Regions from separate parts of the Homo sapiens genome. Here regions 1, 2, 3, 5, 6 and 7 are each linked to region 4. Evidence: promoter capture Hi-C in 16 types of primary human blood cells and fetal thymus (Javierre and others, 2016). All regions are on one chromosome and are shown on one strand. Each heading gives the region's core, a stretch centred on a gene start or on the middle of the fragment in contact. The rest is flanking DNA. Distances are from core to core; before and after follow the strand shown.

Region 1 (3,097 bases), core at 268-2,767, 330 kb before region 4:
TACTAAAAATAAAAAAAATTAGCCGGGCGTGGTAGCGGGTGCCTGTAGTCCCAGCTACTCAGGAGGCTGAGGCAGGAGAATCACTTGAAGCCAGGAGGTGGAGGTTGCAGTGAGCCGAGATCGCACCACTGCACTCCAACCTGGGGGAGAGAGTAAGACTCTGTCTCAAAATGAAATAAAATAGGCACAGTGGGGGCAGTGGCTCACGCCTGTAATCCCAGCACTATGGGAGGCCGAAGCAGGTGGATCATGTGAGGTCAGGAGCTCGAGACCAGCCTGGCCAACATGGTGAAACCCCGTCTCTACTCAAAATATAAAATTAGCCAGGCATGGTGGTACATGCCTGTAATCCCAGCAACTCGGGAGGCTAAGGCAGGAGAATCACTTGAACCTGGGAGGCAGAGGTTGCATTCCACTCCAACCTGGGCAAAAAGAGCAAAGCTCCATCTGAAAAAAATAAAAATAAAAATAAATAAATAAAATGGGCAGGGCCGGGAGTGTTGGCTCACGCCTGTAATCCCACCACTTTGGGAGGCTGAGGCGGGTGGATCACCTGAGGTCAGGAGTTTGAGACCAGCCTGGCCAACATGGTGAAACCCCATCTTTACCGAAAAATACAAAAAATTAGCCAGACATGGTGGCGGGCACCTGTAATCCCAGCTACTCAAGAGGCTGAGGCAGCAGAATCACTTCAACCCAGGAGGCAGAGGTTGCAGTGAGCAGAAATCGTGCCATAGCACTCCAGCCTGGGCAACAAGAGCAAAACCCTGCCTCAAAAAATAAAATAATATAAATAAAATAGGCACAAAATGGGGATGAAAACCCCTCCCTGCAGTGAGGATTCCTAGGTAATGGAGGGAGCTGGAGGTGTTAAGTACTTCATAAACAAGAGCAGCTGCTGTTACCATCATCAGCAACAGATCAATGCCAGCCTCGGAAGAGAATCCCAAACCCCAGAACCCTAACCCGGCCTGGCCTCCCTCTCCTGCCGTAACCTGAGTCGGATCCTCCGATGTCGTCCTCGGAGAAGCTCTGGAGCAGCTGTTCCACTGTGCTGCCCAGCCCCGGGTATCTGAGGACCATGAGGTCACCCTGGGCTCCTCTGGCGCAGCCCTGGCCTCTGGGCGAATCCCAACCCCACTCCAGCACCGGAGCTGGGTGTCCAGGAGCCCTGCAGCCATGGCCCTGAACGGGCACTTCCCCAGCACATCAGAACTATGTCTGAGCAACTGATCAAAAACTTCCGGCCCAGAAATCCCTTTGCAGGGCCTTATGTATGCTACAAGCTCTACTTGCAGAGATACACCTGGATCTGAATGCCCCCAAAGCAGAAAACCTAAATATCCATCAATTAATCAAAGAATGAATAAATGAAGATGTGGCAAATTAAAAGAGATCAATTTCCATCGGTACACACTGACATGTTAAATGATCGAGCCACAACGTAAGGCACAGAGTGGTGTAAAACCTACGCACCACAGGTGTACAGATGGGCGGGGAAGGGACAGAGGGAGGAGGGGCAGTGCACACTGCATTCATGGGGCTTGTCTGGAAACACAATAAAGTGACTTCAGTGCTGCCTCCGGGAAGCAAGTCATACTTTTCAATCCGCACCCTCCTTTGCCATTGTGTGAACGTGCATAACTTGAAGCCCAGCAGGTTGGAGGAGAGATTTATGCGTGCGCGCTTGTATGTGCCTGAGAAACCACAGGTCACGGGCAGTGCGGAGAGAAGGAGAGACTGACTTTTCATGTTACACCCTCCTGAGTGGCTTGAATTTCTCCCTTGTACATGAAAGATAGCCAGACAAAAGGCAATGGCGAAGGCTGGGGGCGGGAGGGCCGGCGTCTACGCAAGTTATCTGGGCCCCTCCCTAGAGTGGGCAGGCCGGACTGGGGACCACCCCCCCAACATCCTTTTGGACCCTGCTGGCTGGGGGAGGGGAGTGGGAACAGGCCCTGAGCCTCTTCTGTGACCCAGCTGGAGGCTGGCGGACAGCCCTGCTTTCCTCAGCTTGGAATCTCCCAGAACAAGCCCTGCACCCACCCCACGGCCCTCAGTGGGTGTGATGGACGTGGGGCAGTCAGCCCAAGGGCATCGGGGCTCCCTGACCTGCATTCCAGCAAGGGAGGCCTCCCAAACGAGCCAGGTGCAGTAAGATCCAGGTTTGAACCTGAGCTCTGCCACCTGCAAGCAAGGGACCATCACCTCCCGACACCTCAGCTTTAGTGTCTAGAAAAATAAAATAACACATGGTTCACTGTGTAGCCATGAGGACGAACCCACCCATGCCCGGCCCAAGACCCACGGGCACACAGTAGTGTGGCATTGGCACAAAACACCAGTCTTGGTTCCTGTGTCCCCACAGTGCTCCGGCTCAAGGCAAAGGGTCGAGAGAAGGAGCCACCGAGAGAGTTCTGGACACAAGGCCATATTGGGCCCAGAACAAGTGTCTGGCCCTGTCCCCCAGGTGGCCACCCCTGGGACCCAACCCATCTGGCACGTGGCTGACAGAGAATCAGCTTCACACACTGCTTGGGAACACTGACTCAGTTTTGGTCTCCCTCTGTCACCCAGGCTGGAGTGCAATGGCCCGCCCAGTCATAGCACACTGCAGCCTCGACCTCCTGTGCTCAAGAAGCAATCCTCCCACCTCCGCCTCCTAAGGAGCTGGGACTTCAGGAAGGATAGAGCTATACCAAGAAAAAAAAAAAAAAAAAAAAAAAAATATATATATATATATATATATGTGTGTGTGTATATGTGTGTGTGTATATGCATGTGTATATATGTGTCTATATATTCATGTGTATATATGTGTGTGTATATATGTGTGTATATATGTATATACGTATACACATATATACGTATATACATATACATATATATATGTAAATAAAACAAAGTAGCTGGGACCACAGGTATGTACCACCACACAAAACTAATTTTTAGGCTAGGCGCGGTGGGGTGGCTCACACCTGTAATCCCAGCACTTTGGGAGGCCGAGGCAGGTGGATCACCCGAGGTCAGGAGTTTGAAACCAGTCTGGCCAACATGGTAAAACCCCATCTCTACTAAAAATACAAAAATTAGCCAG
Region 2 (3,127 bases), core at 474-2,973, 400 kb before region 4:
GTGTGGTGGTGCACACCTGTGATCCCAGCTACTCAGGAGGCTGAGTCAGAAGAATCGCTTGAACCCGGGAGGCAGAGGTTGCAGTGAGACGAGATCGTGCCATTGCACTCCAGCCTGGGCAACAAGAGTAAGATTCCGTCTCAAAAAAAAAAGAAAGAAAGAAAGAAAGTTCCACCAGACATCTGCCCAAAACCCTAGTCCCTCCCATGCTCCCACCTCCCACAAACAGCCAAAACATGGAATGGTCTAAGGTTATCTCCTGGTGTTTTGAGGGTTCCCAAGGAGAAGCAAAGGTACACAAATAAATTGTAAATAAATACACATATGTTGGAATGCTCCTCACTGACAAGAAGTTTAGAGACCACTGCACTGCCCTATATCACAATTCTGATGACATCACCTCCCCTGCTCAAAAGCCTGCACGATCAACATTTACGTCTCCTAAAGGGCTGGACACAAAATGATTTTAGGTGGCCCATGCAAAACCATTTATTACTTTCCTAACTATGCATGAATTAATTTTTATTCCTTTTTTTAGACAGGGTCTCGCTTCGTCACCCAGGCTGGAGTGCAGTGGCTCAATCATGGTCCACTGCAGCCTGTACCTCCTGCCCCAGCCTCTCAAGGAGCTTGGGACTACAGGGGCATTGCACTCCAGCCCGGATGACAGAGCGAGACTCCGTCTCAAAAAAAAAAAAAAAATCAAGTGTTCACTACGCATCAGGTGCAGCAGTGTGTTAGCGGCTTCCCATGTGACCTCATTCAACCCTCACAAGAAGCCTGTGAAGTTTCGGGCATCCTCGTCCTACCTGTTTCACAAGTGGGGGGCCCTACTGCTAAGCGCCTCGCTTGAGGTTAAGCTACGATTTAGAGAGCTGGGTGTGAATTCAGGAGGTCTGATTCCAGAATGAGTACTCCTTACCACCACCCCACGCTAACCACCACCCCACACTTTGTAGGGGAGATGAGGACAACTGAGGTTCAGGAAACAATGGCTTGGAAAGTGCAAAAACTGTTCAAACAACTAACCTGTATCCCTTACAATCCACCCCCAGTCCTGCACCAAGCTTTCTTTTTCTTTTTTTTTTTTTTTTTTTTTGAGACAGTCTTACTCTGGTGCACAGGCTGGAATGCAGGGGCACAAGAATGGCTCACTGCAGCCTCCACCTCTCTGGCTCAAGCAGTCCTCCTACCTCAGCCTCCTGAGTAGTTGGGACCACCGGTGCATGCCACCACACTCGGCTAATTTTTGTATTTTTTGTAGAGATGAGGTCTCACTATGTTGCCCAGGTTAGTCTCAAACTCCCGGGTTCAAGCAATTTTCCCGCCTCAGCCTCCCCAAGTGCTGGGATTTCAGGTATGAGCCACTGCACCTGGCCCTGCACCAAGCCTTTTACACAGATGGTCACGCGATCTTCCACAGGACCCCCTCATTCAATCCACATAAGTTCGCTAAAGACCTACTATGTGTCAGGCCCAGGGTACTGTGGGGCCAGCCAGGCAGACACAACCCCAGCTCTCACGGTGCTGGGGGTGACAGCTACACCGGAAAGGACCAAGTTGATGTATGAATGTAGCTGAGGGGAACAATGGCTAGTCCGAGGTGGCCAGGGAAAGTCAAAATACAATCCTGGCGCAGTGGCTCACACATGTAGTCCTAGCACTTTGGGAGGCCGAGGTGGGTGGATCACCTTAAGTCAGGAGTTTGAGACCAGCCTGGCCAACATGGTAAAACCCCATATCTACTAAAAATACAAAAATTAGCCAGGCGTGGTGGCGGGCGCCTGTAGTCCCAGCTACTCAGGAGGCTGAGGCAGGAGAATCGCTTGAACCCAGGAGGCGGAGGTTACAGTGAGCGGAGATTGGGACTCTGAACTCCAGCCTGGGCGACAGGCAAGACTCTGCCTCAAAAACAAAATACAATCCTACACACCCTCCCTGATTTTGAGGCCCCCTCTTCCAAGCAGCCCCCGTGATCTCTGGCTACCACCGATCCCCTGCCTGTCCGCTGTGTCCCTCTCACAGTGCAGGTTCAGAGCAATAAACGATAGGCCAAGAGAGTTTGTTCCCACATTTACCACCCGCTCCCCTCCAAGACTGCAGAGGCTCCAGGATCCAACCCCCGACCATCCAACACTTAGTAGGGCCTCAAGAAGTTATCTGCTGAACAATGAGGGAGATTGGACCAGACAATTACAATAGTGCTTCCCGCTTGCGAGGAACCATTTTACAGGCTTTCACCAATTCCATTTGGGAGATTACCCCCTTTCACAAAGGAGCTTTCACAAAGGAGGAAAACTAAGAGGTTCAGAGAGGTTAAGCCACTTCCCTAAAGTGACAGTGTGCTAAGTGACTGACAGCACCAGGAATCAAGCTTGAATGCAGCCTATCAATCCAAACTGAAAACTTGCTTCAAATTCCTGCGAAGCGGCTTTTCCGCTTATTCCCTTGCTACTTTCCCCAAGGAGTCACTGACCAAAAAAAAAAAAAAAAAAAATCAAGACTGGTATCTTCAAGATCGGGACAAAACACTCGCCCAAAAGGTCCACGTTGAAAATAAAAGCCTTAATCTGAAAAACCAATTGGGAAGGAGAAAAAAGGATGCAAAAGAAAAGCAATGCTTTTACACAGCAAAGGATTTCCTCCGTGCTCCCCTACTTGCCGCCGACCCCATCCCCAACCCCAATTCGGGCAAACATTTTGAAGTCACTAACTGCAAGGCATCGGGGGAGTCCTTTACCTTTCCTTGAAAATCTGGAATGACACGTTTTTAAGACAATTTGAGGTCGGCTAGCCCAAGGGGACCGCTAATGCCCGTGTCCGGCCGACGCCGGACATATCTGGAGGTTTGGCTGAGCCCCGATCGCAGCTTCGCCAAAAACGCAACATTCGGGTCGGACCCGTTACCACGCAGCCAGAAAAGCCCCAACGCCTGCCTATTGTTGCAGCCGCTGTAATTGGGAGGGCGACTGTAGGGGTGCCGGGCGAGGGGGGCGAGCTTTGTCCGGCGACCCCGGCGAGAGCGCGCGCGGAGAGGATCGCGCGGCCTCCACGCGGCCCGGGCCCCCCACCCACCCCGCCGCTCCGCGGGGGCCGCCGCTGCCACGGCCTCGCGACACTGTGGCCT
Region 3 (2,724 bases), core at 221-2,720, 310 kb after region 4:
GAGTAGCTGGGACTACAGGCTTGCACTAAGACGTCCGGCTAATTTTTGTATTTTTGGTAGAGACGGGGTTTCATCATGTTGGCCAGGCTGGTCTGCAACTCCTGGTTTCAAGTGATCCGCCCACCTCGGCCTCCCAATGTGCTGGGATTACAGATGTGAGCCACAGTAACTGGCCCCTACATTTTCTTTTCTTTCTTTTTTTTTTTTTTTTTTGAGACAGAGTGTTGCCCAGGATGGAGTGCAGTGGCGCGATCTCGGCTCACTGCAAGCTCCGCCTCCCGGGTTCACGCCATTCTCTTGCCTCAGCCTCCAGAGTACCTGGGACTACAGACGCCCGCCACCACGCCCGGCTAATTTTTTTTTGTATTTTTAGTAGAGACGGGGTTTCACCATGTTAGCCAGGATGGTCTCGATCTCCTGACCTCGTGATCCGCCCGCCTTGGCCTCCCAAAGTGCTGGGATTACAGGCGTGAGCCACTGCGCCCAGGGTGGCCCCTACATTTTCTTAGAGATGTTATGAACAGCAGGGTAACTAAAATGCAAACAGCCTCTTCCAGGCACCGAGGAATGGTTTAGTCTTTTTAGTGCTCTTATTTGCAAAAACCAGTTAACAAAGATTATCAACATTTCTATAGAACTTATTATGTGCCAGAATTAAGTCATTTATTCATCACAGCAACCTCCCGACCGCTGACAAAATAGGGACACTGAGGGACAAGAGGGGAAGGCAGGATTTGAACCTAATCAGTCGGGCTCCAGAATTCTGTCTCCCTAACCCTTAGATGATGTCACCTCTCAGGCTTCAATCTCACACAGCGCTACAGCAGGGGAAACTGTCATCATTCCCCTTTGACAGGTGGAGAAACGGAGGCTGTAGAAATACAGCACTTTCCCAAGGGTACAAGCCCAAAGTCATCGTGACTCCTGAAATCCCGCTCTTCATCCCTCTGCCACTCAGTTCACCATTACAGCCCTCGCTCACCTGGGCGCGGTGGCGAAAACATCGGGGTGCAGGTCGGCCAGGCCCACGCGCTCCTGCTCGAAGCCCCGCAAGGACTCGACCCAGGCCTGCACTGGGCGTCGATGAGTGGGTACCGGGAGCTCGACTTTGCGCAGCACGGGCTCCGGGAGACCTGGAGCGATTGCGGGGGTCAGAGGTTAGGGTCAAGGGTCAGACCTCTCTGTCGCCGCCCCTCCTGGAGCCACCCCGGTTGCCTTACCCTCGCTCGCCACCTGCTCCGGGTTCTCGGTCGCACGCGCTGCCTCTTCCGCCAGGGAACTCAGGCCCTGCAAGGGTTGGGCGAAAGTGAGAGACGACCCCTGGACACCCCCAAATTTCATCCTTCGACCACGCCTCCAGCCCCTGGCCTCACCTGGCTGCCGGTAGGCCGAAGCCAGGCCCGCGCCCCGGCCCGGACGAACTGCAGCATCGCCGCGCAGCCTCCCACGCCGCGGGAGGTCAAGGCCACTGGAGCCTCGCGAGGCGCCGCTGGATGACGTCACGCACGCGACGCCGCCCTACCCGCCGCGACTCCGCGCTGGAAAGCGGGGTGTGCAAAACCGAAGATGGAGGGGGTCCGACCCGGCGTGCCCAGACCTCCACCCCAGGACTAACCCCCAGACCCAATTTTCACTCCTGCCTCAAGGACCCTCCGTAACACTGGGGAACGCGACCTCACAGCAAGAAGACCCAGCTTCCGTAGGCCTAGCCTACTTTGGGTCCCGCCTCCGACGAGCCGGTGCAGGAATTCAGCCAATGAGACCTCTCTGGCCCAATTCAGCCAATGACTGTTAAGCCTGAAGGAGTGACCCCCGCCCATAAGTGGGCAGTTCTGGAGTGAGCAACTAAGGAATACAGCCAATAACGCTTAAACTTTTGCTGTTGGTCACGCCCACCGGGCCACGCCTTCATCCCGCCTCCAAGGCTGTCGGAGATGGTTTTTTCTTTATCCAGTTATGTGGTTTTGTTTTTTTATTTGTTTTTTTGTTTTTGTTTTTGTTTTTGTTTTTGTTTTTTTTGAGACGGAGTCTTGCTCTGTTGCCCAGGCTGGAGTGCAGTGGCGCGATCTCGGCTCACTGCAAGCTCCGCCTCCTGGGTTCACGCCATTCTCCTGCCTCAGCCTCCCGAGTAGCTGGGACTGCAGGCGCCCGCCACCACGCCTGGCTAATTTTTTGTATTTTTAGTAGAGACGGGTATCACCGCGTTAGCCAGGATGGTCTCGATCTCCTGACCTCGTGATCCTCCCGCCTCAGCCTTCCAAAGTGCTGGGATTACAGGCGTGAGCCACCGTGCCTGGCGTTTTTTCATTTGTTTAAAGGCAGGGCCTTATTGCCCTCAGAAAGCCTTCAGGATTGGGCCTGCCAGACCATGCCTCCCAGTTTAGATTCCCCAGGGCAGGGCCATGTCCCCCCGAAACCCCTCAGATTAGGTATTTGTGTCCCTTACCCCCTAGACCAGGGTCCTCTCCCCTACCCCCTTAAACCAGGTCCCGTCCCCTCTCAGACCTTCCAGGGCTCTCCAAGGACAGAACAAAGTGGGGAGTCCACAGATCCTGGAGTGCCTCCCTTGTCGCCCCCTAACAAATCCGAATGCTTATTTTTAGTTTCTTTGTTTTGGTTTTTAGAGACAAGGTCTTCCTCTGTCGCCCAGGCTGGAGTGCAATGGGCAAGATCATGGCTTACTGCAGCCTCGACCTCCAGAGCTCAAGGGATTCTCCTGCCTCT
Region 4 (3,146 bases), core at 609-3,108:
GGAGGAGGCTATTTCCTGGAGAAGGGGTTCGCTTTCCTTTGACATCTTTTTTCCCTTATGAGGACTATCAATTCTTTGGGGGTAGTTCTCCATCTCTGGGGGCCCATTTCCTGGAGGGGATTTTCTGTTTCCTGGTGATTGCCCATATCTGGGGGCGTCTTTGGTCCCTTGGGGGAGAGTCTTAGGTTCCTTGAAAGTTTCCATGGGGGGCTGTTCTCTGGGTTGGGGGGTCTCATTCTTAAGGGAGTGACCAGCTTTTGGGGGGGGTCCCTATTCCCAGAAGAACTTTCCTGGGGGCTTATGCAGCTTCTCCGTTCACTAGAGGACCCCTCCTCTAGCATTTCCTGTTTCTGGGAGATGCCTCTTTCTGGATGACCCTTCTCTTTCCAGTGACCCCTTTTGTGGAACCTCCTCCCTTGAGGACCTCCTGATCCTCTGTCCCTCACACAGGTCATGATGTTTGGCAGCACCGCCATCGCCCTGGAGCTGCTGAAGCAAGGTGCCAGCCCCAATGTCCAGGACACCTCCGGTACCAGTCCAGTCCATGACGCAGCCCGCACTGGATTCCTGGACACCCTGAAGGTCCTAGTGGAGCACGGGGCTGATGTCAACGTGCCTGATGGCACCGGGGCACTTCCAATCCATCTGGCAGTTCAAGAGGGTCACACTGCTGTGGTCAGCTTTCTGGCAGCTGAATCTGATCTCCATCGCAGGGACGCCAGGGGTCTCACACCCTTGGAGCTGGCACTGCAGAGAGGGGCTCAGGACCTCGTGGACATCCTGCAGGGCCACATGGTGGCCCCGCTGTGATCTGGGGTCACCCTCTCCAGCAAGAGAACCCCGTGGGGTTATGTATCAGAAGAGAGGGGAAGAAACACTTTCTCTTCTTGTTTCTCCTGCCCACTGCTGCAGTAGGGGAGGAGCACAGTTTGTGGCTTATAGGTGTTGGTTTTGGGGGTGTGAGTGTTTGGGGGACGTTTCTCATTTGTTTTTCTCACTCCTTTTGGTGTGTTGGACAGAGAAGGGCTCCTGCAGGCCACAGCCACCTAAACGGTTCAGTTTCTTCTGCGCCTCAGGCTGCTGGGGCCTCAGACGAGACCCAAGGGCAGAGCATTTAAGAGTGAAGTCATGACCTCCAGGGAGCCTAGAAGCTGGTGGCCTTGGCCGGCTGTGCTCAGAGACCTGAAGTGTGCACGTTGCTTCAGGCATGGGGGGTGGGGGGAGCGTCCCAAATCAATAAGAAGGTAGAATGAGTTATGAGTTATTCATATTCTGTTGGAAGCTTGTTTTCCAGTCTCTTGTACAGCGTTTTAAAAGAAATGGATTCTATTTATTATGCTTTATTGGAAAAAATGTTGTAATAATTTAATGTTTTTACCCATTAAATTAAGACTTGTGCATGATCACAGCACGGGTGGCTTCTGATTTTTGAGTCTGGGATGGAGAGTTACACATCCCGGATGTTGATGGGGATGAGGACGGGGGTCGCGGATCGTGGATGTGGTGGGTGAGGGGAGAGAATAGTAATTCCCAGGGCGCCAGGGTGAGTGAGCTGGGTGGGGCAGCGGTTTTCGCTGTCGGAACGGAAGGGAAGCAGGAAACCGCGAGTGGAGAAAGGGCCCCCAGATGTCAGCTGGGTGCCCGGAGCACAGGGGGTGGGGCGGGTGGGCGGTGGCCGCGGCCTTCCCCGCAGGGGCGTAGCCGTGGGCGGTGACTGCGGTGATGAGGCGAAAGGGATCCCGGAAAAGCCAGGGGCGGGGTTAGCAGCGGTACGCCTCGTTTACAAGTGGATGCGGGCGGGACTGAGGGCGGCCCCGCCCCGTCCAGGGCTTCCTCAATGCGCGTGCGCAATGGGCCACAGAACCGCCATGCCGGAACCGCGCGGGTCGTCGCAGCTGCGGGTGAACGCGGCGTTTGCCGCGCGGTACAACCGCTACCGGGAGCGCGAGGAACTGCAGCGGCGTGAGTGCGGGGCGCATGCGCGCGGGAGCCTGCGCGCGCCGGCCGGTTGGGAAGTGGGGAGTCGAGTGGCCCCGCCGGCTGACCTGGGGGGGGGCATCCCGTCTGTGTCCCGCAGTGAAGGATCGCTACGGGGACCGAGACAGCAGCAGCGACTCCAGCTCCGAGTCGGACTCAAGCGACGAGCGCGTGGTGCGCGTCCCCGCCCCGTCCTGGACGTGCGGAGGCGTCCAAGCCCCCCTCTGCACCCCGACCCCGATGTAGACGGGGGGGAACCCCCAACCCCAGAGCGCCCTGCGGGAGCGTCCCATCCTCCGCTCCCCATCCCATGAGGGACAGACAGTGCCCCCCCTCTCCCCAGGGGAGCCAAATCCCCGTTATTTTCTCTCCCCTGCCACGATCCCCACCTGCCCACTCTGATGTGTGGGGCGACTCTGTCCCCCAAGAACCCCCCCTTTCCTCTTTCATCCTCAAGAGTCTAGCCATTTTTTAGTGTACTCCTTGCGCCACGTGGGGCGCCCAACTTCTCACATCAGCCCTGATCCTGGCCCCACTGTGCGGCCTGGCCCAGCCCCTCCCCGCTGTCTCTCTTGTGCCCTCAGCCCACCTGCCCCTTGTCAAGTCTTTGTCTTCCCCAGGAATTACCTTCTCCTTGCCCCTCACCTTCCTCTACCCATATCCTGTACCTACCTGTGGCCTGCCCCTGCCCACCCCAAGAGGGCCCCTCTCCCTCCTGCTGTTTGACCACCTGTTTGACCTCCCCAGCCAGATCCACCCCCCTCCATCCTAATCCCTACGCTGAGCTCACCTGCTGGCGCCAGGGCTCTTATTATCTCCCTTCTGAAATCTATCCCCAACCCTTTTCCTGCCCTAGGAATTTGATCCCCAGCAGGAGCGGGACTTTTACAAAACGCTCTCCTTGTTGAAGAAGAAGGACCCCCGCATTTATCAGAAAGATGCCACCTTCTATAACAGAACAGGTCCGGGGCCACTCCTGTCTAAACCTCTCCTTCCTCTGGAGCAGAATCCGGGGTCCTTTCCTGACTGTGGATTCAGAGAAGTGACTTGACTTCTCTGAGCCTCTTTTCCTGTCTGTAAAGTATATCTAACGGTAGCATCTCCCCTCAGGGCTGTTTTAAGGATAGATTGGGATTTACCCAGTTTACACAGTTCATCTGTTTTGACTA
Region 5 (2,828 bases), core at 61-2,560, 460 kb after region 4:
CTGAGTAGCTGGGATTACAGGCATGGGCCACCACACCCGGCAAATTTTTGTATTTTTAGTAGAGACGGGGTTTCACCATCTTGGCCAGGCTGGTCTCGAATTGCTGACCTCGTGATCTGCCCACCTTGGCCTCCCAAAGTGCTGGGATTACAGGCGTGAGCCACCGCGCCCAGCCTTACATTTTTATTTCTAATTATAAAATCCAGATTAATCCAAAAAACATAAATCACATGTAACTGAGGTAGGGTTTTCACTTTAAGAATATATTGTTTCTATCACAATTTAAAAATTTACAGCTGTGTCTTTTATATTTATTTTTTATTTTAATTAATTAATTCCTCACTTTATTATTATTTATTTATTATTTATTTATTTATTTATTTATTTATTTTTGAGATGGAATTTCAGTCTTGTCGCCCAGGCTGGAGTGCATGCGGTTGCTCGATCTCGGCTTACTGCAACCTCCACCTCCTGGCTTCAAGCAATTCTCCTGCCTCAGCCTCCCGCGTAGCTGGGATTACTGGCGCATGCCACCATGCCCAGCTAATTTTTGTATTGTTAGTAGAGACGGGGTTTTAGCATGTTGGCAAGGATGGTTTCGAACTCCTGACCTCAGGTAATCCACCTGCCCCGGCCTCCCAAAGTGCTGGCTTTCAGGCATGAGCCACTGCACCCAGACTTTCGCTGGGTGTTAATGTGTGCGTGCGTGCAAATGTGTGTGTGTGTGTTTGTGTCCACTCTGTTATGTGCCCATATGTGTGTGACAGCTGTGGTGTACATGTGTGAGTTTCTGAGTCAAGCTACCTTGGCTGGCTCCCATCCTGGTCTCTTTTTGGCTGTGTGACCGCAGGCAAGTTGCTTACCCTCTCTGAGCCTCAGTTTTCCCTGCTGTAAAATGAGGGTACATACAGAATCCAGCTCAGGTTGTAAGGATCAAATACGTAAAAGGTGTGGAGAGTTTAGAGCCAAGCCCTACACACGGTAAGTCCCCAGTGATGTTCCTCTTTCTATGTGTGGTGTGTGCGTGTCTGGGGCTGGGATCACGCCTGGCTGCCCCAGGGCCTGCAGCCTCCCACGCTCTGGGCTCTGCAGTGGAGGGTGTGGGGGAAAGGGAGGGATGTCCAGGACACTGACCTGTGTTATCAGGCTCTGGTGGCCTGGGCAGGGGGGTCTGGCAATTCTGTCTCATTTCTCATTCGGGAAATGCTAAATATTTATAGTTTGGGCTCCTGGGCCCAGCATCCCAGCTCCACTCCCAGGCTCTGGGGGCTGGGGAGTGGTTACCAAGCCTCCTCTCTCCTTCTGTCCCACTGCCCTCTCCCCGTCTCTAGCTCAGAGGCCCCACTGGACCCTCGGCTCTTCCTTGGACTTCTTGTGTGTTCTGTGAGCTTCGCTGGATTCAGGGTCTTGGGCATCAGAGGTGAGAGGGTGGGAAGGTAGGTGGAGGTTGATTCTCACTGTGGGGAAACTCCGACCACAGCTTGGCTTGGGGGCCCCCAGGCCACCCCGCCACCCCAGGCTGAGAGTGTAAAAGGCAGCGGGTGTTATACACACGTCCCAGTTCTGGGGGGTTGCTCAATCTCTGTTGTGGGGGGTGGGGCATGTCAGTGATCGGGGACAAAGAGAGGACCCTACCCCCGGATCCTTGTGAGCCCCTGCTTGGTGTCTGAGTCCAGAAGTAAATGTGGCCATCTCCAGCCCAGAACCCTCCATGGCTCCTGCCTGACTCAGAGTAAAACCCAAGTCCTCCTCCGGGCCCACAGGACCCTTCACACTTTGCCCTGACACTTCTTACCTCCTCCTGCTTCCCCCTTCTCTCTTCCGGCCTCATAGACATTTCTGCCATTTCTTTTTTTTTTTTTTTTTTTTTTTGAGACAGAGTCTCGCTCTGTCACCCAGGCTGGAGTGCAGTGGCGCGATCTCAGCTCACTGCAAGCTCCGCCTTCCGGGTTCACGCCATTCTCCTGCCTCAGTCTCTGGAGTGGCTGGGGCTACAGGCGCTCGCCACCATGCCCGGCTAATTTTTTTTTTTTTTTTTGTATTTTTAGTAGAGACGGAATTTCACTGTGTTAGCCAGGATGGTCTCGATCTCCTGACCCCGTGATCCACCTGCCTTGGCCTCCCAAGTGCTGGGATTACAGGCGTGAGCCACCGCACCTGGCCTTTTTTTTTTTTTTTTTTTTGAGCCTTGCTCTGTCGCCCAGGTTGGAGTGCAATGGCGCAATCTCTGCTCACTGCAACATCGGCCTCCTGAGTTCAAGTGACTCTCCCACCTCAGCCTCCTGAGTAGTAGCTGGGATTACAGGCATGCATTACCATGCCCAGCTAATTTTTGTATTTTTAGTAGAGACGGGGTTTCACCATGTTGGCCAGGCTGGTCTTGAACTCTCGACCTCAGGTGATCCTCCCGCCTCGGCCTCCCAAAGTGCTGGGATTACAGGCGTGAGCCACCGTGCCTGGCCCCTTTCTGCCATTTCTTGGGTGCAATCTCCGGGCCTTTGCACCTGCTGTTCTCTCTGCCTGGAATGCTCTTCCTCTTCTCTCTCTTCCATCAGGTCTTTGTGAAAGTGTCCCTTATTCTTTATTTTATTTTTATTTTTATATTTAGTAGAAATGGACTTTCACCATATTGGCCAGGCTGGTCTCAAACTCCTAGGCTCAAGCAATCCTCCTGCCTTGGCCTCCCAAAGTGCTGAAATTACAGGCATGAGGCACTGTTCCAGTCAAGTGTCACTTCTTCTGTGAGGCCTTTCCTGACTCCTCTATTTTATTTTTTTTTGAGACAGAGTCTCGCTCTATTGCCCAGGCTGGAGTGCAGTGGTGCAATC
Region 6 (2,739 bases), core at 240-2,739, 450 kb after region 4:
TTCGCCATATTGCCCAGGCTGGTCTCGAACTCCTGACTTCAAGAGATCTGCCCATCTTGGCCTCTCAAAGTGCTGGGATTACAGGCGTGAGCCACTGCGTCCGACATTGTCAAACGTTTTTTGTTCATTATCACCCTTCTTAGGAGAAAACCCGAATTATCCTAAAATTGAATTTACATCAACTAAATTAATTTCAATTTAATTACATTTAATATCTCCCTAAAGGCAGAAACTAAATACTTAGGGATAAATGCTGTCTGATAGAGCTGGCTTTGGAAGACCACAATATCTAAGATTTTTTTCCTCCCTGAGGACCAGTTTTTTCCCCTGGGGAGTCATCATGAATCACTTCGACTGAGGACGGTTGTGCTTAGAGCAAGGAGCTGAGCAATAAACAAGTAAATGCACAAAATTATACCGGAAAGCCAAGAATGCTACAAAGAAAAGAAGAGGGAGTGGCTGAGGGGAGGCCACTTGGCATCTGAATCATTGGGATCGGGAAAGAAGACAAGGAACAGTTTAAGCAAAAGGATTGTTTTCCCCGAACTTTGGTTTCTTTTTTCTTTCTTTTTCTTTTTTTCTTTTTTAGAGACAGGGGTCTCACTATGTTGCCCAGGCTTGTCTCAAACTCCTGGCCTCAAGCCATCCCCACGCCTTGGTCTCCCAAAGTGCGGGATTACAGGCAGGCGCCACTGCACCCAGTCTGAGCCTCAGTTTCTTCAGCTGTAAAATGGAAGTAATATCCTCCTCACCATGCTTCATATACAATAAGCACTCAATAAGTGAGCTTTATGATTATTATTATTTATTTTAATTTTACTTATTTTTCTGAGACGGAGTCTCACTCTGCAGCCCCAGGCTGGAGTGCAGTGGTGCGATCTCGGCTCACTGCAGCCTCCGCCTCCTGGGTTCAAGCGATTCTCCCGCCTCAGCCTCCCGAGTAGCTGGGATTACAGGTGCCCACCACCACGCCTGGCTAATTTTTTTTTTTTTTTTTTTTTTGAGACGGTGTCTCGCTCTGTCGCCAGGCTGGAGTGCAGTGGCGCGATCTCGGCTCACTGCAACCTCCGCCTCCCGGGTTCAAGCGATTCTCCTGCCTCAGCCTCCCGAGTAGCTGGAACTGCAGGCACGCACTACCACGCCCAGTTAATTTTTGTGTTTTTAGTAGTGACGGGGTTTCGCCACGTTGGCCAAGCTGGTCTCGAACTCCTTACCTCAGGTGATCCGCCCGCCTCGACCTCCCAAAGTGCGAGGATTACAGGCTTGAGCCACCTCGCCTGGCCTATTTTAATTTTAAAGGTTAATAGGACCAGCCCTGAAATCAGCCTCTGCCCCCGCTGGCCCTACTCTGGTACCAGCAGCGCCCAGTAGCATACACAGCCGCGTGCGCCTCCACCTCCGTCCGCAGGTGTCGCTGTGGGTGCCGCGGCTGGGCCCCTCTAGGCGGCGACGGCGGCACCGGAAGTCTCGTTTTCGCCCGCTTCCGCTCTCTGGCCGGGCTTGGGCTGCGTGGAGAATACTTTTTGCGATGCCTACTGGAGACTTTGAGTGAGTCGGCGATCGCGGAAAGGGGCACGGGAAGCGGTTGGGGTGCTCTGGGAAGTATTATGGGGCCTGGGTACGCCGAGGCTGCGGGAGCCGGGCCTGGCTGACTTAATCTTCGTTCCCCACACATTTGTTTCCGCAGTTCGAAGCCCAGTTGGGCCGACCAGGTGGAGGAGGAGGGGGAGGACGGTAAGTGTACACGGTCGCCCGGGGTATTCGCGGCCAGGCCCAAGCCGTGTGACTGCCGCCTGCTTCCATCTCCCAGTCTGGCACCGTGTACCCCGTCACGGTCTGCCCCTGCCCCGCGCCATCCTCCTTGGGACCCGCCTGTTGCCAACTCCAGGTGTTCCCCGGCGGGTCCCTCTTCCTCCCATGCCACTGCCTCCCAGCTGTTCCCCTCCAGGGAGGAAGTTGTAATCTCCCGTCTCCTGTTTCTCTACTGGCGCCTGGTTGGCTTCATGGCCTGGCACCCACCTTCCTACGAGGGATCTCCCATCCTTGCCACTCCGAGTCCCCACAGGGCCATCCCAGTGCGTTGCCTGGCCAGCCCTCTGCCCTTGGCCTGCCTTTCTCCGCTTTTGCTGTAGGCGTCATCCCAAAAGCCCTTCCATCGCAGCTGGGGAGCTCCTGCCCCTGGAGCTGACTCCTCCTTCCTACGCTGCCTTTTGCAGACAAATGTGTCACCAGCGAGCTCCTCAAGGGGATCCCTCTGGCCACAGGTGACACCAGCCCAGAGCCAGAGCTACTGCCGGGAGGTGAGTGAGGACTGCCGGGAGGTGAGTGAGGACTGCCACTCGGTGTCCGGGCTGCCTCTCCCTCCAGCCCTGCCGCTCCTGATCCCCATGACCCAGGGCTCAGTCTTTCTCTGTTTTTCCCCTTCTGCCAGCTCCACTGCCGCCTCCCAAGGAGGTCATCAACGGAAACATAAAGACAGTGACAGAGTACAAGATAGATGAGGATGGCAAGAAGTTCAAGGTGAGGGTGGGGGGTGCAGGGAGTGGGGACCCTTGTGCTTGGGGGCCCATAGACCGGAATGGGGTGGGGTGTGTTGAGGAGGTTGATAAAGGAGATCCCTTGGTCCCAGGAGCCTGACCCTTCTCCCCTCCCATCCTCAGATTGTCCGCACCTTCAGGATTGAGACCCGGAAGGCTTCAAAGGCTGTCGCAAGGAGGAAGGTGAGGCTCTTCTTCCCCA
Region 7 (3,129 bases), core at 374-2,873, 370 kb after region 4:
GTCTTATGTTTAATCTTTAATAAGTTTTGTGTTTTTGTATATGGTGTAAGGTAAGGGTCCAACTTCATTCTTTTGTATGTGGTTATACAGTTTTCTCAGCACCATTTGTTAAAGACACAATCTTTCCCCCATGTTCTGGTGCTTTAAAAAAAAAAAAAATTCTGGCTGGTTACGGTGGCTTAGGCCTATAATCCCAGCACTTTGGGAGGCTGAGGCAAGTGGACTGCTTGAGGCTAGGAGTCCCAGACTAGCCTGGCCAACATGGTGAAACCCTGTCTCTACCACCGAAGATACAAAAATTAGCCAGGCGTGGTGGAGTACGCCTGTAATCCCAGCCTACTAGGGAGGCTGAGGCATGAGAATCGCTTGAACCTGGGAGGCAGAGGTTGCAGTGAGCCAAGATCTCACCACTGCACGCCAGCCGGGGTGACAGAGTGAGGCAGGGTCTTACCCTGTCGCCCAGGCAGGAGTCCAGTGGCCCAATCATGGCTCATTGCAGCCTACACTGCCAGGGTTCAAGCCATCCTCCCACCTCAGCCTCCCAAGTAGCTAGGATTACAGGTGTGTGTCACCATGCCCAGCAAATCTTTGTATTTTTTGTAGAGATGGGGTATCCCTATGTTGCTCAGGCTGGTCTTGAACTCCTAACCTCAAGCGATCCTCCCACCTGGGCCTCTCAAAGCACTGGGATTACAGGCGTGAGCCACTGCGCCTGACATGGTGCTTCTTAATTTATTCTTACTTTTTATTTTTATTTTTTTGAGACAAGGTCTTGCTCTGTCTCCCAGGCTGGAATGTAGTGGTACAATCATGGCTCACTGCAACCTCTGCCTCTCCGGTTCAAGTGATCTTCCTGCCTCAACCTCTGGAGTAGTTTGGACTATGGGCACATGCCACAACGACTAGCTAATTTTTGTTTTTCTTTTTTTCTTTCTTTCTTTCTTTCTTTTTTTTTTTTTTTGAGATGCAGTTTCTCTATGTTACCTAGGCTGGTCTAAAACTCCTGGGCTCAAGCGATCCTCCCACCCTGGCCTCCCAAAGTGCTGGGATGACAGGCGTGAGCCACGTGGTGCTTAAAAAAGGCAACAAAAAACCCCCCACACACTGGGTATAGAAGTGGCATGGGCCTCTATACACTGTGAGATTCTTGGTACTAGCTACAAATTCTGTGTATACTCAAGATTTTCTAGAGTAGGTGCAATTACCCCGTTTTACAGATGAGGACACAGAGGCTGAGCCGTAGTGACCCACCTAAGGTCGTATAGCCAGCAAATAGATGGAGGTTGGATTGGAACTGAGGACTTTACTCAAGGGCTCTCACAAACCCTTGGGGGCTTCTCGCTGCTTTATCCCCATCACACCTGAAAGAATGAATGAATGAATGCCTCGGGCACCGTGCCCACCTCCCAGCAAACCGTGGAGCTTGGACGAGCCCACTGCTCCGCGTGGGGGGGGTGTGTGCCCGCCTTGCGCATGCGTGTTCCCTGGGCATGGCCGGCTCCGTTCCATCCTTCTGCACAGGGTATCGCCTCTCTCCGTTTGGTACATCCCCTCCTCCCCCACGCCCGGACTGGGGTGGTAGACGCCGCCTCCGCTCATCGCCCCTCCCCATCGGTTTCCGCGCGAAAAGCCGGGGCGCCTGCGCTGCCGCCGCCGCGTCTGCTGAAGCCTCCGAGATGCCGGCGCGTACCGCCCCAGCCCGGGTGCCCACACTGGCCGTCCCGGCCATCTCGCTGCCCGACGATGTCCGCAGGCGGTAGGTACCATGGGGGGGAACACGGACTCAGGGGGACAGGCAGGGCGCTGGGTGGGGGGTCGCTTCCCCTCGGGGTGGCCGGTGGCCGCTGCTGACAGACGGGCGCGCATGCGTGGGGTGGTGCGGCGCGCAGCGGCAGTTGGCGCGGGCAGGGTGGCACTTCCGGTCGCGCGTGCCCGGGCTGTTTGGCGCCAAAATGGACCGTGGATTCCCCCGTAGCTCCCTGGTGGCTAGAAACTAGGCGGGGTGGGGGTTCTCTTTTGATCCCCAAATACAGCAAGCTTTGGGTTCGTTTCCGGGGTCCCCTTCTTCAAGCAGCGGTGGGCCGGGCTCTTGACTCCAGCTTGGTCGCACAGGAAGTGGGCAGCCCGCGGCCAACGGACACCCCTCGGGCACCGGCACTTCGGCCTCCACTTCCGGTGTCCGGCCCGGTCCCCGGGGGCGCTTCTGTGGTGGGGGGTCCCTCAGTGCCTTTCCCCCAAAGCTGTGCATCTCGATGGCGGCCTCCAGAGACGGATGTCACCCGTCGGGGCCTGGGCTGGGCTGGCTCATGTTCGAGAGCCCAGCCTTCCGTGGGGTACTCATTCTGTCAGTTGGGACTGTGTGGTTCTTGCTCCTTGGGAAAGTCCATGTTTTGGCAGGAACTTTAACCGTGCATTGCAGCGCAGGGCCCGGGAAGCGTGAAGGCTGCATGGTTGGTCTTTTCCTGTAAATCTGTGCCTGTGAGCCGTGGGCATCAGGGAAGTCTTGCTAATGAGAACTGGCTACACTTTCGTGTGTGTTTGTGTGTGTTCATGGGTGTGTTCTTTAGTGTGTGTCTAATGTTGGAGGCCCTGGCTTTAGCAGTTCATGCCTCTGTCCAACTTCCGTGCACAAGGATCAGTGGGAGCACTGGTCCCAGCCCCTTGTTCATGAACGCCATCAGTTCATTCCTGAAAACTTGTTCAAGTGAGGTGTGCGTGAGTCAGAGGAACCCTCACCAGGCGTGGACACTTCCAGCTGGATTTGTGAAAGCACTCTTTGCCATTTTTCTATTTCCTTAGGCTTGTTAACTGACCTGGTTGGGCCAGTCCGGTTCTGATTTGGGTCTTTGGGGAGGGATGGATATTTGGTTCAACCCCCGCTTTTTTTCTTTTCTTTTTTTTTTTTTTTTTGAAGGCTGGGTGCTGTGGCTTATGCCTGTAATCCCAGCAATTTGGGAGGCAGTGGCGGACGAATCTCTTGAGCCAGGAGTTTGAGACCAGCCTGGGCAACAAGGCAAAACCCCATGTCTACTAAAAATACAAAAATTAGCCTGGAGTAGTGCCGTGCGCCTGTGGTCCCAACTACTCAACAGACTAAGGTGGGAGTATCACTTGAGCCCCAGAGGTTGA

Evidence for each region. The method cuts DNA at HindIII sites, captures the fragments that hold promoters and counts their contacts. A CHiCAGO score of 5 or more calls a contact.
Region 1: a fragment that was not itself captured here is called in contact with the fragment with the promoter of KRI1 in region 4 in 1 of 17 cell types (neutrophils); the score reaches 6.0 in neutrophils.
Region 2: a contact is called between a fragment that was not itself captured here and the fragment with the promoter of KRI1 in region 4, in 1 of 17 cell types (fetal thymus). The highest score is 6.3, in fetal thymus.
Region 3: the fragment with the promoter of MRPL4 here is called in contact with the fragment with the promoter of KRI1 in region 4 in 4 of 17 cell types (total CD8 T cells, total B cells, activated CD4 T cells and 1 more); the score reaches 6.2 in total CD8 T cells.
Region 5: the fragment with the promoter of ANGPTL6 here is called in contact with the fragment with the promoter of KRI1 in region 4 in 2 of 17 cell types (total CD8 T cells and non-activated CD4 T cells); the score reaches 6.9 in total CD8 T cells.
Region 6: a contact is called between the fragment with the promoter of EIF3G here and the fragment with the promoter of KRI1 in region 4, in 2 of 17 cell types (total CD8 T cells and naive CD4 T cells). The highest score is 6.2, in total CD8 T cells.
Region 7: the fragment with the promoter of DNMT1 here is called in contact with the fragment with the promoter of KRI1 in region 4 in 1 of 17 cell types (monocytes); the score reaches 6.1 in monocytes.

The regions. Positions count from the first base shown.
Region 1 is chr19:10,890,427-10,893,523 of GRCh38, reverse strand. All of the region lies in intron 1 of CARM1 (coactivator associated arginine methyltransferase 1), which reads right to left. Among named protein-coding and RNA genes, the nearest start is that of CARM1, 20 kb to the right of the region's middle. The HindIII fragment of the contact is 4,050 bases long and covers 1-3,097 here.
Region 2 is chr19:10,961,343-10,964,469 of GRCh38, reverse strand. The region is part of intron 1 of SMARCA4 (SWI/SNF related BAF chromatin remodeling complex subunit ATPase 4); the gene reads right to left. Among named protein-coding and RNA genes, the nearest start is that of SMARCA4, 1.9 kb to the right of the region's middle. RefSeq lists an enhancer at 426-555 and a silencer at 3,073-3,127. The HindIII fragment of the contact is 1,307 bases long and covers 1,070-2,376 here.
Region 3 is chr19:10,250,960-10,253,683 of GRCh38, reverse strand. MRPL4 (mitochondrial ribosomal protein L4) reads right to left here and starts at 1,470. Exons shown (of 9, transcript NM_015956.3): 1 at 1,374-1,470; 2 at 1,221-1,287; 3 at 983-1,133. The coding sequence starts at 1,430. RefSeq lists enhancers at 968-1,541, 1,398-1,807, 1,938-2,087, 1,542-2,115. The HindIII fragment of the contact is 20,723 bases long and covers 1-2,724 here.
Region 4 is chr19:10,564,722-10,567,867 of GRCh38, reverse strand. KRI1 (KRI1 homolog) reads left to right here and starts at 1,858. Exons shown (of 19, transcript NM_023008.5): 1 at 1,858-1,962; 2 at 2,078-2,151; 3 at 2,834-2,939. The coding sequence starts at 1,869. It overlaps CDKN2D (cyclin dependent kinase inhibitor 2D), which reads left to right. Exons shown (of 2, transcript NM_001800.4): 2 at 451-1,408. The coding sequence ends at 810. RefSeq lists enhancers at 162-669, 1,618-2,185, 2,388-2,437, 2,186-2,753 and a silencer at 1,588-2,117. The HindIII fragment of the contact is 9,818 bases long and covers 1,285-3,146 here.
Region 5 is chr19:10,101,160-10,103,987 of GRCh38, reverse strand. ANGPTL6 (angiopoietin like 6) reads left to right here and starts at 1,310. Exons shown (of 6, transcript NM_031917.3): 1 at 1,310-1,420. RefSeq lists enhancers at 1,131-1,180, 1,251-1,300. The HindIII fragment of the contact is 11,381 bases long and covers 1-2,828 here.
Region 6 is chr19:10,118,649-10,121,387 of GRCh38, reverse strand. EIF3G (eukaryotic translation initiation factor 3 subunit G) reads left to right here and starts at 1,489. Exons shown (of 11, transcript NM_003755.5): 1 at 1,489-1,548; 2 at 1,688-1,734; 3 at 2,217-2,300; 4 at 2,432-2,520; 5 at 2,661-2,720. The coding sequence starts at 1,529. RefSeq lists enhancers at 1,231-1,986, 1,987-2,739. The HindIII fragment of the contact is 4,736 bases long and covers 1-2,739 here.
Region 7 is chr19:10,193,447-10,196,575 of GRCh38, reverse strand. It overlaps DNMT1 (DNA methyltransferase 1), which reads left to right and starts at 1,623. Exons shown (of 41, transcript NM_001130823.3): 1 at 1,623-1,756. The coding sequence starts at 1,677. RefSeq lists an enhancer at 1,190-1,419 and a silencer at 1,680-1,919. The HindIII fragment of the contact is 2,077 bases long and covers 1-2,039 here.